Linked DNA regions of Homo sapiens: region 1 is linked to region 2. The links are contacts of gene promoters, found by promoter capture Hi-C in blood cells and fetal thymus (Javierre and others, 2016). All regions are on one chromosome and are shown on one strand. The core of a region is centred on a gene start or on the middle of the fragment in contact, and the rest is flanking DNA. Distances in the headings are between cores, read along the strand shown.

Region 1 (6,402 bases), core at 909-3,408, 560 kb after region 2:
ACTTTAATGGATAACATGTGGTTCATCATGATCAGCTCAGATCAAGTAGTTATCCAGACTAATGGTCAGGAATTTATGGTCTATAATTATGGTAATCACGCCAATTTGCCTTAGTAATTAAGTACTCTAATTTCTGTCAACCTAGGATCTTCACATTCTCACTGAAATTAAGGGTGCCCTCAAGAGGCATTCCTAATTCATTTGTTTTCTACTTTTTCTTTCTTTTTTTTTTCTTTTTTCTTTTTTTTTCTTTTTTTTGAGACAGTGTCTTGTTTTGTTGCCTAAGCTGGAAGGCAATGTCACAATCTTGGCTCACTGCAACCTCAACCTCCTGGGCTCAAGTGATCCTCCTGCCTCAGCTTCTCAAGTAGCTGAGACCACAGGTACAAGCCACCATGCCCAGCTAATTTTATATTTTTCATAGAGATGGGGGACTTGCTATGTTGCCTAGGCTGGTCTCAAACTCCTGGCCTCAAGCAATCCTCCTGCTTCGGCCTCCCAAAGTGCTGGGATTATAGGTATGAGCCACAATGCCCATGTAATGTATTTCTTGTTGTTGCTTATTGGGCAGCTACCTGAGCCACAGGTAGCTCAGAAAGACTCTCAAATTGTTTGTTTGTTTTTTAAAACAGAAACAAGGTTTTACTATATTGTCCAAACTGACCTCAAGCTCTTGGCCTCAAGTGATCCTGCTGCTTTGGCCTCCTAAAGTGCTGGGATTACAGAAGTGGGCCACTGCACCCAGACTACTGTCTAATCTATTTCTAACAGATTTGGTGAAGAGGTTATCTCTTGAACCCTCTTGAGGGATTTTATTAGGAGTGAGGAGAGCAGAATGCAAACAACAAATTAATCCACTACTTCTACCTTAAGATTTCTACCCAAGTCTTTTAACTCTTGTATTAATATCTTTTCTTCTCTAGAGCAGGTCCATTTCTGTTCATATGAGCTATGGTCTGGATTTCAGTCAACCAAACAAGAAAACAATTAAAACTACTCCCATATGTTTAAGCTAGGATATTAAAAGACTAATTTCTGACAAGGTTACCCATACTGGTAACTTCAGTTACGTCTTAAAATACATTCCTCCCTTATTTATATGTATACATTAACCAAATCTTCTTTTCATCACTGAACTAAAATAATATTTTTCTTAAACTATTTTAAAGTACAAGCTTTATCATCCTGGGGGTTATGCTATAATATCACTCCCCTAATACAAGTTCAAGCTGAGGATCTGGTTTTCATTATTGGTCTAGACATAATAAGTGTTAAGAGTAGAGCAAGAAGAGGACTGGCTTCCTCCTGCAATATGACTTCCTTACGTAAAGTTGTGACAGGGTTGTAAAGCAAGGTAAGAACAATCTCATGAGTCAAATGAAGGTAAGCGCTCCTGGAGGCAAGGGAGTCTCTATGAAGAGGAATCAGTATTTTCTGAGTCAATCAAATTAAATCCTTTCATGTATCCCATTTTAGTTTGGGGGGACACTACTCTTTCATTATCAAACTCTTACTTTCACATACTACACAAGACTGTGAATTCAGCTGAGTTTGGAATTTGGAAACCTATATAATTAAACTTTGAATTTGATCTTTGACTATCTCAACCCTGTGGCTGCAAGAAAGGAGATATTCTTTTAGCTGGTTTTCAATCTATGCCCTAAATTAGAATTTTGAGAATGTCATTCCTTTTTTATTTAGCTGTTCAGCGTCTTTAGAAACAACACCTCCAGCCCATTCCTGATACCAATTTATAAGAGTCAGGATTTTTAGCTAGAAACAAAAAATAACCAAGTTCAACTGATGAAGCAGAATAGGACATTATTACAAGGATTTGGGGGTAGTTCATAGAATCATTAGGAATCCTAGACAATTAGGGACAGGGCTTTGCACCAAAAACTATGCTCAAAATCACACCATAGAAATGATCTAATGAGAACCCCACTGTGGCCTTCACCAAACAAAAGTTGTTGCAACCTGCACTGCACACAGAACTGGCTCTGTGTACTAAATGCCACTAATAGCATAGCTTCCATTACTGATACAAAGTTTAGTCCTGCTGCAACAATCAACACAGCTGTGCAGAGTCCTCTCTTCTGATGCATTGGCTCTCAATTTCAAGCAGAGAAACAAGACCATGTGCCCACATCCTAGGTGCAAAGGAAGCTCACGAAGCAAGTATTTGGCATTTTCAGTGTTTATAGTGGAAAACAGGGTCGGCCTCCCACCATACTCATAAAATGGAAAGTTCCCAAAACATAGGCATATTAGTTGACGAGCAGCCAAAATGAATGACAAATGTCAAGTGTGATTAAAATTGTGTGCACCATATGTACCCTATTATGCATAAATTTGATCTCTAGAATTTCTAATGCAATTCTCACACACGTGCAAGACAAAAACAAAGACTTTTTTGAAGCATTGTATGTAAAAGCAAACATGTGAAAAGAAATCAAATGTCATCGGTAGAGGATTAGATAAATAGCTTGTGATATGCTAATATGATTTTTTTTATTTAGGTATTGAGAAACTGAGAGTTTTATATATGATTTTTTTTTTTTTTCTGAGGCGAAGTCTCGCTCTGTTGCCCAGGCTGGAGTGCAGTGGTGCAATCTCAGCTCACTGCAAGCTCCACCTCCTGGGTCCATGCCATCCCCCTGCCTCAGCCTCCTGAGTAGCTGGGACTACAGGCGCCCTCCACCACACCCGGTTAATTTTTTTTGAATTTATTTTTAGTAGAGACGGGGTTTCACCGTGTTAGCTAGGATGGTCTCGATCTCCTGACCTCGTGATCCGCCCGCCTCGGCCTCCCAAAGTGCTAGGATTACAGGCATGAGCCACCGCGGCCGGCTCCATATATGAATTTTTAAAAGACTGCCTTTGAAGTGCTCCCAAAGGAGAGTGAAGATAAACACAAATGTATATCATTAGGACATGTATAATGTATCAAAGCCTCAAATGGTATGGGACTGAGGTGGTACTGTTAGAAGAATCTGCCTGTGCTTGTGGAAGGGACATCACAGAGGAAAAAGATACATATGTAAGTTAGGATTTAAAAGATACACAGGAATGTATGATGTAAAAGAGGAGGGGTACATTCCAGGCAATACAAATTATGTTTTTAAAGTCACTAAAGCTTGTTATAGCACACTATTTTTCTGAAAAGTAAGTGTTTGTCATGTTTGATATTAAACAAACAGGACTTCATGGCAGTGTTGTAGCATGAGGGAGGACCTCCAGGAAGAAATTTTAAGTTTCTAGGAACTTCCCTTCAACCTCAAACTAAAGTAAAACAAAAATTAAATGAAATAGCAGATAACACTCCAATTTTTGTCCCACTTGAAACTGCTATGGTCACATTACATCATGTCACTGAAAAATCTTCCTACAAATAACAGTTATATTTGGCAAATCAAAGATAAATAATTTCTTCACAGAAAACTAGTCACTAATACTGTGGAGTTACTTTTCCACCTTAAGTAAAAAGAAAAACAAAATTTGCAAATATTGCCATCTAGTGGCTTCAAACTGAAAAAAAATTAACTATACTTTATGTGAATCATTCAACCATGTTTCCTAGGAAAAGTTTCCTTAGCAGTTCTTAAATAAACAAATATTACATTTGTGTCTCTGCTTGAAAAGAAAGGGCTCAATTTAGGCTACTAGGCTTCAAACTTTTGCTTCATCATTTACTAGCTGGATGACCACAGGCAAGTTGCTTAATCTCTGTAAAATGCACATAATAATAGTACCTACCTGCCAGAGTTGTTAAGAAGAATTAACGAGAAGATCGTAATACAGTTGTTTAGTGCAGCATGTCACTCATATTATACACCCAATGGGTAGTAATAATTATATTGCTTAAGGGGGAAAGAGTTGCAAAACGTAGGTTGTTAGATTGAAGTTTGAGTGACACAGCATTTAAAATGACAGTACTTTTGTTGGCAGTTTGGGTTAGAGCATTATACTTTTTTTTTTGAAGTAGTAGAAACATTGTAATGGTATATTGTTGCTATCTAGATAGCAGCTATCAATAACTGGTATTCTCTAATTTTGAAAGATCCTTGAATCAAATTATGATTGCGATTTACTGTTACAATATTTGTAAAGTCCAATTCATCCCTGATTTGATCTCTTAAGAAAATATACATCTTTCTATAAAAGCATATATGGAAGTGGAGGAAAAGGCAGCTTTACCAGTTGGTTAAAAAAATTGAGGCTCATATAGGATGCAAACAGTCTTAAAACTTCCTGTCATGGAGACAAGGCAGATAAAACTGGTTCTCTCTATTTATGACATTATTTGAGCTATAGTACTGCTATGACTTATTTTATTCTTCAAGACAGTCCTTGAGACTCAGTTTAACTTAATTTCACCTGTCCAGTGAAGCAGAAACAGCATGATTGTTAAAATGAATTTGACAAAAATGTCTCTTAAGATTTCCAAGGATATGATGACAAAATGTTTATGATAGCACCACTGAGAATTTGCAGTTAGGCAATCAGCAATATTCATAGTATTAATGGACTGGAATCAATCTTGGGGGAAAAAAAGCATGCCACAAAAGTCAGTCATGAACACCCCTTCTTGGATGTTTTTATCAAAAACTTGGACAAATTGAAAACTTGTTTCTTCTAAGTTGTATAATATTTTGGGTGGATAGGTTTTGTAGGCAGCCTTTAAGATGGCTCCAGTCATTCTTGCCATTCCAGTATTCACACCTTTGTGAAATCCCCTCCCCTTGTGTGTGAACTGCACCTAGGAACTCACTTCTAATCAATATAATGCAGCATGAGTGATGGGCGTCACTTCTGAAATTAGGTTACAAAAAGTCTGTGGCTTCCATCTTGCAAGTTCTTTTTTCTTCCTCTTGCTGACCAACTGTGATGTAATCTAGTTACCAAGTTGTGAACTGCCCACCTGGCAAGGAAGCAAGGGGGGACCTCTGGCCAACAGTCCGTTAGGGACTGTATCCTGCCAATAACTACATGAGAAACTCAGAAGCAGATTCTATTTCAGTCAAGTCTTCTGATGAGACTGCAGCCCAAGCCAACTGCTTTATTATATCCTGGGAAAGAACTCAAGGCAGAGGTACCCAGACAAATCAATGCCGTGGATTCCAGAACCACAATTTAGATAAAATATTTTGTATTTTAAGCCACTAAATGGTAGGGCTATTTGTTACACAGCAACAGATAACTAATACAGTTCACCAGAGGTTGGCAAATTACAACCTGTGGGCCAGATCTGGTCTGAGGCTTGTCATTGTATGGCCCTTGAGCTAAGAATGGTTTTTACAACTAAAAGAATTGTTTGTATTTTATTTAATAAAAGAAAAGGAATACTATATAAAAAAGATCCATAGCCCACAAAGCCTAACATATTTACTAGCTTTTTACAGAGAAAGTTTTATAATTCCTGCAGTAAATAATATGACCAATGACAGCCAAGATTCAAAATGATTGCCTCAACTGACTAGAATAAAGAAGTGAAGTAAATGAGATAAAACTTGGCAGTCATTAATAAAAAGTTCCATTCTTAGGTTCAAAAATTCAATCTCAGAGTTATAGGATAACGATTATGTGACAAAGATTGGCAGATTTTAGTGGATTCCAGGCTCACAAAGAACTAAAATATAATGTGATGCTTAAAATAAAAGTTAATATAATCTAACTTTGCATTAACATCCAGCTGATAAAAGAATGTTAGCTCAAGACTATCTATATGAGTCAGAGCATATGTGAAGTATTTTAACATGAATCATTTAAAAACTGTTTAGAGACAGTGGAAACGGTTTTTGTATAAGGCTCCTCAAATGTATTTCCTTAACTTATTGCAAAATGCATTTTTTTTCCATCAACTTGGTAGGTGAAACCACTGGTATCCAAAATTATGCATTTTATCGGTAGCAATCTCTGTATTTTTAAACTCAGCTCTTCCTTTGATACCTATTTGTGTTTTACAACAGGTTTATATTTTTCTTTCTTTTTGTTTTCTTTACATGTATTCCCAAAAAAGTAGGGGTAAAGGAAAGACAACCAAGGACGTGCATGTATTTGAGAATGGAGGTGGGAGGTTGGTATATTTAAGAGTGTTTTGTCCTACATATCTTCTTTAATCTCTTGAGATTTGGTCTATCTCTGTCTATTTATGTTGGCCTATGCTATACACATGTGTATATATATATATATATATATATATATATATATATCCCTGCAAATAAATCCCAGAGCTTTGAGGTAAAACTCACTGCACAATAAAATGTTTCTAGAAACAAGCAAAAAGCAGACAATCTTCACTAATTCTGAATTCACATTTTTGCATGTTATGAATGAGGAGCATAGAAACTAACCAAATGTTACAGCTTATTTGAGTTCAAAGTGTTTTGAAGGTTGACTGGA
Region 2 (5,968 bases), core at 1-2,500:
CAATCCAGGTGGCCTCTGCAGCTGTGTCTCTCTTTCCTCTTCTGTTCCTATAAGGGCAGGGCCTCCTTCAGGAACAGCCACCAGTGAGCTTCCTCCTCCCTTCTGGTCAGTTGGATTTGTCACTGCAATGAGAAAATGGGTGCCCTGAGTAGGTGCTCGGGAAAGCTGATTGCACAACACTCTTCTCCTGCCCTGCTCCTCCAGCCTCTAGAGTTTTCCGAATGCAGTTTCCCCAGCCTGGCAACCAAGTGGCTACTGCCTATGACAGCTGTGCTGTGTGGCAGGGACCTCTAAGCTTGGGATGCTCTTTTAGGAATGGGGGTGGGGTGGGGCGGTGGTCTCCACTGTACTATTGGATTAAAAACAGCCAGAACCTGTTGCTGTTTGTCCTACTGGGCCTCAAATGAAGGCAGTTTTACCTACATTCATTGGAACGAAGGAAGAACCAGGGTGGGGACGCCAGGCATTGGGAATATCCTCTGGCACCAGAGCAGTAATTATCGTAAAGGAAACCTTAATTGTGAAAACAATAATCCCAATTTCTAGTCCTTCAACTAACCCCTGGGTTTTCCTGATTTTATTTTTAGGGGGCACATGCCAGTATTTCTGACCAACGGCTCCAGTCGCCTGTGTACATGGAAACCATAACTCACCTGTTCAGCATCTTTTCGATGATTTTCTTAACTATGGGGGATGCAGGATTGAGGCAAGCTTTCCGCCCATTCTTGAGTGTGGCTCTGCAGAGGGAAGGGAATCTCGTGAGGCAGGAGGTCGGGCTGGGGACAGGGTTGGGGCAGCAGGAGGGTCTGGGACCCCGGCGGTGGCAGAGGCAGCGCGGGGCGGGACTTACATGACTTCGGTTTGGGCGCAGTGGGGTCCGGGGGACTTCACGTTCACACTTTGGATGTTCTTGGGGTGAATTCCCTGCAGGGTCTGCAAGCACTGGCAGCGCAGTTCAGTGGCCACGGACGCTCCTAGGGAAGAAGAGACTCACTGACTGAGCGAGGCTGTCGGCGCTGGGTGCCTACCCCAGCCGCGTCCGGCCCGGGGACCCCAGGGCGCCGGTACCCACCTGCTGCGCGCCGGCCAGCGGCTACCAGGAGCAGGAGCAGCAGTGCCACTCGCAGGAGCCGGGGATTGCTGGGGGCGGCGGAGAGAGCAGCGCGGGCCATGGGGCTCAGCAGGCGGGTCTGGCGGCTGTGAGAGGAGCGGAAGAGCTGGCGAGGAGGTGCCTGCGGCCCGGGCTCTGTGGCTCTCCGAGATCCGCGAACCCCTTTTATGCATGGTTGGGGCTGGAAAGCCCGGAGCCCCCGGGCCAGGGAAATTCCCGGAGTTCCAGATCGATCCCGAGTCCGGAAGGAAGGCGACGGCCCCGCCCCCAGGGTGGAGCGCTTGGGGTGCGGGTGGGGTGTGGGGGTCCACTGATGCAGCCCGCGCCTCGCCCTTCAGAGTAACTCCTGTGGACTCTGAGACTCTGGGATATTCGCCTTCTGCCCCAGATCCCTGGAGGGGGGCTGAGTGGCAGCCTGCGCTGAAGATACCACCTGAGAGGTGGGATCTTGGGTGCCTGGTGATCCCAGTGTGTGGGGCTGGGAACGGAGAAGGAGCTGGGGCGGATCCCTGAGAACCACCACAGAGAAGGCGCGACCTCTTTGGAGGAAGAGCGTTGTGTCTCGGATTTGTGGCTGGAGATTGAGAGAAATTAACAAGGTGCTGGGAGATAGGCTGGAGCTATATTATCCTCTCTGCCTCAGCCTTTCTTATTTTCAGTTTAGCCTATTTCACGTACATCTAACATCAGTGCTGTCTGTGAAAGTACAGTCCATTATGTCAGATTCCAGAGAAGAATGTTCTGCTTGTTCCTTGTGTTGCATATTCTCTAACCACACTTAGAATATCTTGTTTACGTTTTCCATTTGGTGGCAACAGATTATCAGTGTCAAAAGCTGAATCCAGTGTTAGCGTCAGTGGAAGCCAGGGCTGTATAACATGAACTCTTCTTTCATATCCTGCTTATCTTCCTTCTTCCCTGTAAAATGTTGGAACTTTCAAAATCCCCTGGAAATCTTTTCCCTGTAGGAGGGGTTCAGGTTTGATCTAGAAATACGGCACTGGTTGTCACTCCGGACCTCGGAGGGGCTGGGTCCAGCAGGCTCATGGGCTCACCATTCCTGGTTCTGTCTTTGGACTGCATAGCACATGACACCAGGGAGTGGGTACCTGGTGTGCAAGCACCCTTCCCACTGAAGCAGCAGACATGCATTCGGATGAAATAGGAACGCCGGATCCCACATAGAGTCACATTCCATTTACTATAGGACTTCCTGGTATTCAGTATTGGGCCCCCTTTCTAGAGAAACACACACATGTTGTTTTCTCTCAGGAATTTCAGTCATTTAACCTGGTAGCTTTATTACTTTTTTCTCCAGAAGTTCTAGAGAACTTATTTTTATTCATCATTAGGTTTTTAGAGGGTTTAAGTGTGATTCTCCAAGTGGGATTCAGAGCTCTCTGAGACATGGAGTAAGATGGGAGGAGGGGGAAAAAGCAGAGGCTTCTGCCCCAGGGGCAGATGTCTCCACAACAGAGTTCTACACAGCCCAGCTCAATAGGTAAGACCTGTGTTCCTAGCCAAGCAGAGAACACAGGCAAGGCTGCCACCTGCATTTAGTAGTGAAGCATCGCCTGCAGATTGTTTAGCCTCTCCGTTTCTACCCCAAGGTGGTTATGAGAAATGAGTCAACATTTGTAAGAGCCAGCATGGATTTAAGTGCCTTATAAATGTTTGTTAAATATTTGTTTAAAAAAAAAATGGAAATAGCGTTTTCCAACATTGCCTAAACAGAAACTCATCCTGATGTGAATTTATATATATATTTATATATTTATATATATATATATATATATATATATATATATATATATAATGGAAAGGTTCACTCCCCAGTGTTTTTTACATTTAAAATTTTCTATATCAGTTACTGCTACCCAACTACCCCTAATGTATACAACACCATATACAGCAGTATGAGTCTTGAATAAATCAAGGCAGGTCCTGGAAGACAGAATGTTCATATAAACACCAAAAGCTCAGTTTCCAAAATGCCCTTTCGGTTACTCAGGGGTACTGGTGCTCTCATTACAGTAATCTTAGTCAAGGGTAGAAAGGTGTGCTAGAATGTTGTTTCTTTAAAACAGACACTGTAGATAGTATATGTACTCCAGTCTTTTTCAATTATTTCTCTTTTCACATCTTCCTGATTACTTATATTTCTTAACAGGAAGAATAAATGAAAAAGCATTGACCCAATGGAGACCAAATACAGTGTCCCAAATATCTTCATCAGTTTCAAGCTGTAATCAATGCTGCAAACTTCTAAATCTAAATTTTTTAAAAAAGAAACTCAGCTGAGAATTTACAAAAATTGAAATAAAATTTTCTGTATCAGGCTTTCAGAAAGGAAGACAAATATGTACTCTACCACGAGGTACACTTAGATGAAATTTTATTTGTTACCGTTCAGACAGATCATTGGTTTATTTTGTAGTCCACCTTTCAATCACTTCATGTATATAAAAAGGGACTTTGAATGTAATAGTCTTCATCTTATTTATTGAAAAGATGTACTAAAGGAATGACTATTTTTTAAAAAAACTCTAGTATTTATCAATATGACTCTAAGGGAAAAATCAAGAAAATTAGAGGAAGGTTCAAATTAGTAGTAAGGAATAGGAAATGACATATAATCTAAAGTTTATTAAGTGTGTGACTAGCTCATGCATAATTGAAAGTTTGAGTGATTACACCTCTTATTATCACTCTTTTTCTGGGATTTGATGGGAAACTGAAATTTCCAGAAACATGGAAATGATTCTTTAAAACTTGAAAAATGTATTGTTTTGTTTTCTAATTGTAGTTGTAATATATGCTCATTTTATAAAGTTTATACAAACCAAAAAGGCAAGAAGAGATTTTTCTTCTCTAATGTCTCTTCACTTTGTCTATGAAACAAACATTCACAGGTCGCTGAAAATTTGCTTTTTTTTCTTCAACAAAGGAGCTAAATTATAAGAGCTTACAGAATTCTGGTAAATAAAAAATATGCTGCTTCCTTGATTATGCTGCTGCATACCAAGGGCAAATTGCTAAACCTCTACACCCGAGGCAAAGGGCAGAGCATTTATTTTCTGCTCTTCTAAGCAGTTTACAAATATTAACTCATTCAGTCTTCCAAACAAGCCTGTGCTTGTACTGATAACTACAGTATCAGTAGATATTGTTGTGTCTATGAGATTTTAAGTTGCAAATAAAGAAACTGTGGTGCAGAGAGGTTAAGTCACTTGCCTAAGGTCATACATCCTTGAGCCTGGAAATCAAAGTCAGATAAAATGGCATTTAACTATTATACTATGATAAAAACACTCTGTGATATATAATTAATACTTTCAAGAGTAGAATGATTTTAAAAAATCTGTTATTGCCCTAGTTGAATGGTTCAAATTTACATATTCTTAAATGAAAACACAGCAAAATGGTCACACATCTCTATAATTTTGTTTCACTAACAGCATATCTTTCCTGTGGCATTGAAATAGCTTGTTATATTTTCCTGAAGTACACAATTCTGAAAAATAAAATAGTAACTTTGCCATGAGAAAACCTGGTAAACTCGCCCTATACCAAATGAGGAAGATTTACGTCATCAGTGTGATGTCATGTGCATATCATGTACCCCCTTGATATGATGTCACAAGAACAGCATACCTCTTTGGTGCTCTTTCAAAAATTAATAGCCCAAGTCTAATCATGAGAAAAGCATGCTTCAAACCTAAATCAAAGAATCTTAAATGGCTGAGTGGTACTCTTCAAAATTGTCAATGTCATGAAAAATAAGGGCAGATTGAAGAACCATCACAGTCCAGAGGAAATTATGGAGATATGACAATCCACTGCAGTGTGGTACTTTGGTTTGCATTCTGAAACAGAAAGAGGATGTTAACGGAAAAACTGGCAAAACCCAAATAAAATCTGCAGTTCAGTTAAAAGTAATGTGTCAGCGGTGGTTTCTTAGCTTTGACGACTATACCATGATATTGTAAAATGTTCACTTTAAAGGAAAGTGGGTGAAAGATACACAGATACTGTATTGACTTTGCAACTTTTATAAACTTAAAATTATTTCAAAATAATTTTTTTATTTTTTAGTTTCTTTTTTTAAAATAGTTTATTTTTTAAAAAGTTTCTCTTTCTGAATTCATTTAGAATGCCACCAAAATTAAATGGCCATGCGTGTTTCATCTGCTAGCTTTTAGAGAGGAAACTGAATTTTCGTTTAGTGCCTGTTTGTTCAAATATGAAAATCCAAAATATCTACTGCCGAGTTTGGACACTTCATCATGTTTCATAGGATTAAATAGTTTGCCTTCATCATTAATCACGCTGCCCAAATCTCTCATCTAGTTCTGGTAACTGGAGAAAAACACAAGTGTTTCTGCTGTAATCATCTCAGGACCCAACCCAAAACTGACGCAATGAGAGCGCTCAGGGGGAGCAGAGCTCCACAGGAGCTGCCAAGAGAATGAAGCGAATTAAGCATGTCAAGAAGCAGTGGGCATCCGCAGATTAGACAGAACTTGACTCAGGAAAATTTTCATCAAAATCACATTTTGTGTAAATGAATTGGAATGGAAAGAATTTTTTGTTGTTATTTCCTCCTTAATATGCCACTTGTATCAATGAAATCCGCATAAACCAAAATTCAAAATTTATAAGCACAGGAATGCTGTAGCCTGGAAAAATAAACAAATTCATTGTCTTGTTGGAACAAATGTTCCTCCAAGCTAATTTTTTTCAAGAGTTGAATGACGGGATTTTACGCAGTCTTTAAACGTATGCAAGCAACAATTCTTAAAGAAATGGAGGAACCTTTAAAAATGGAAGCTTTGGTAGCTAAATTCCATTTTGCCT

What was found. The method cuts DNA at HindIII sites, captures the fragments that hold promoters and counts their contacts. A CHiCAGO score of 5 or more calls a contact.
Region 1: a contact is called between a fragment that was not itself captured here and the fragment with the promoter of CXCL1 in region 2, in 1 of 17 cell types (fetal thymus). The highest score is 5.3, in fetal thymus.

What each region holds. Positions count from the first base shown.
Region 1 is chr4:73,308,783-73,315,184 of GRCh38, reverse strand. All of the region lies in intron 3 of ANKRD17-DT (ANKRD17 divergent transcript), which reads right to left. Among named protein-coding and RNA genes, the nearest start is that of ANKRD17-DT, 53 kb to the right of the region's middle. The HindIII fragment of the contact is 1,961 bases long and covers 1,178-3,138 here.
Region 2 is chr4:73,864,675-73,870,642 of GRCh38, reverse strand. CXCL1 (C-X-C motif chemokine ligand 1) reads right to left here and starts at 1,250. Exons shown (of 4, transcript NM_001511.4): 1 at 1,073-1,250; 2 at 851-974; 3 at 654-737; 4 at 1-122. The coding sequence starts at 1,172. The coding sequence ends at 107. The HindIII fragment of the contact is 5,230 bases long and covers 714-5,943 here.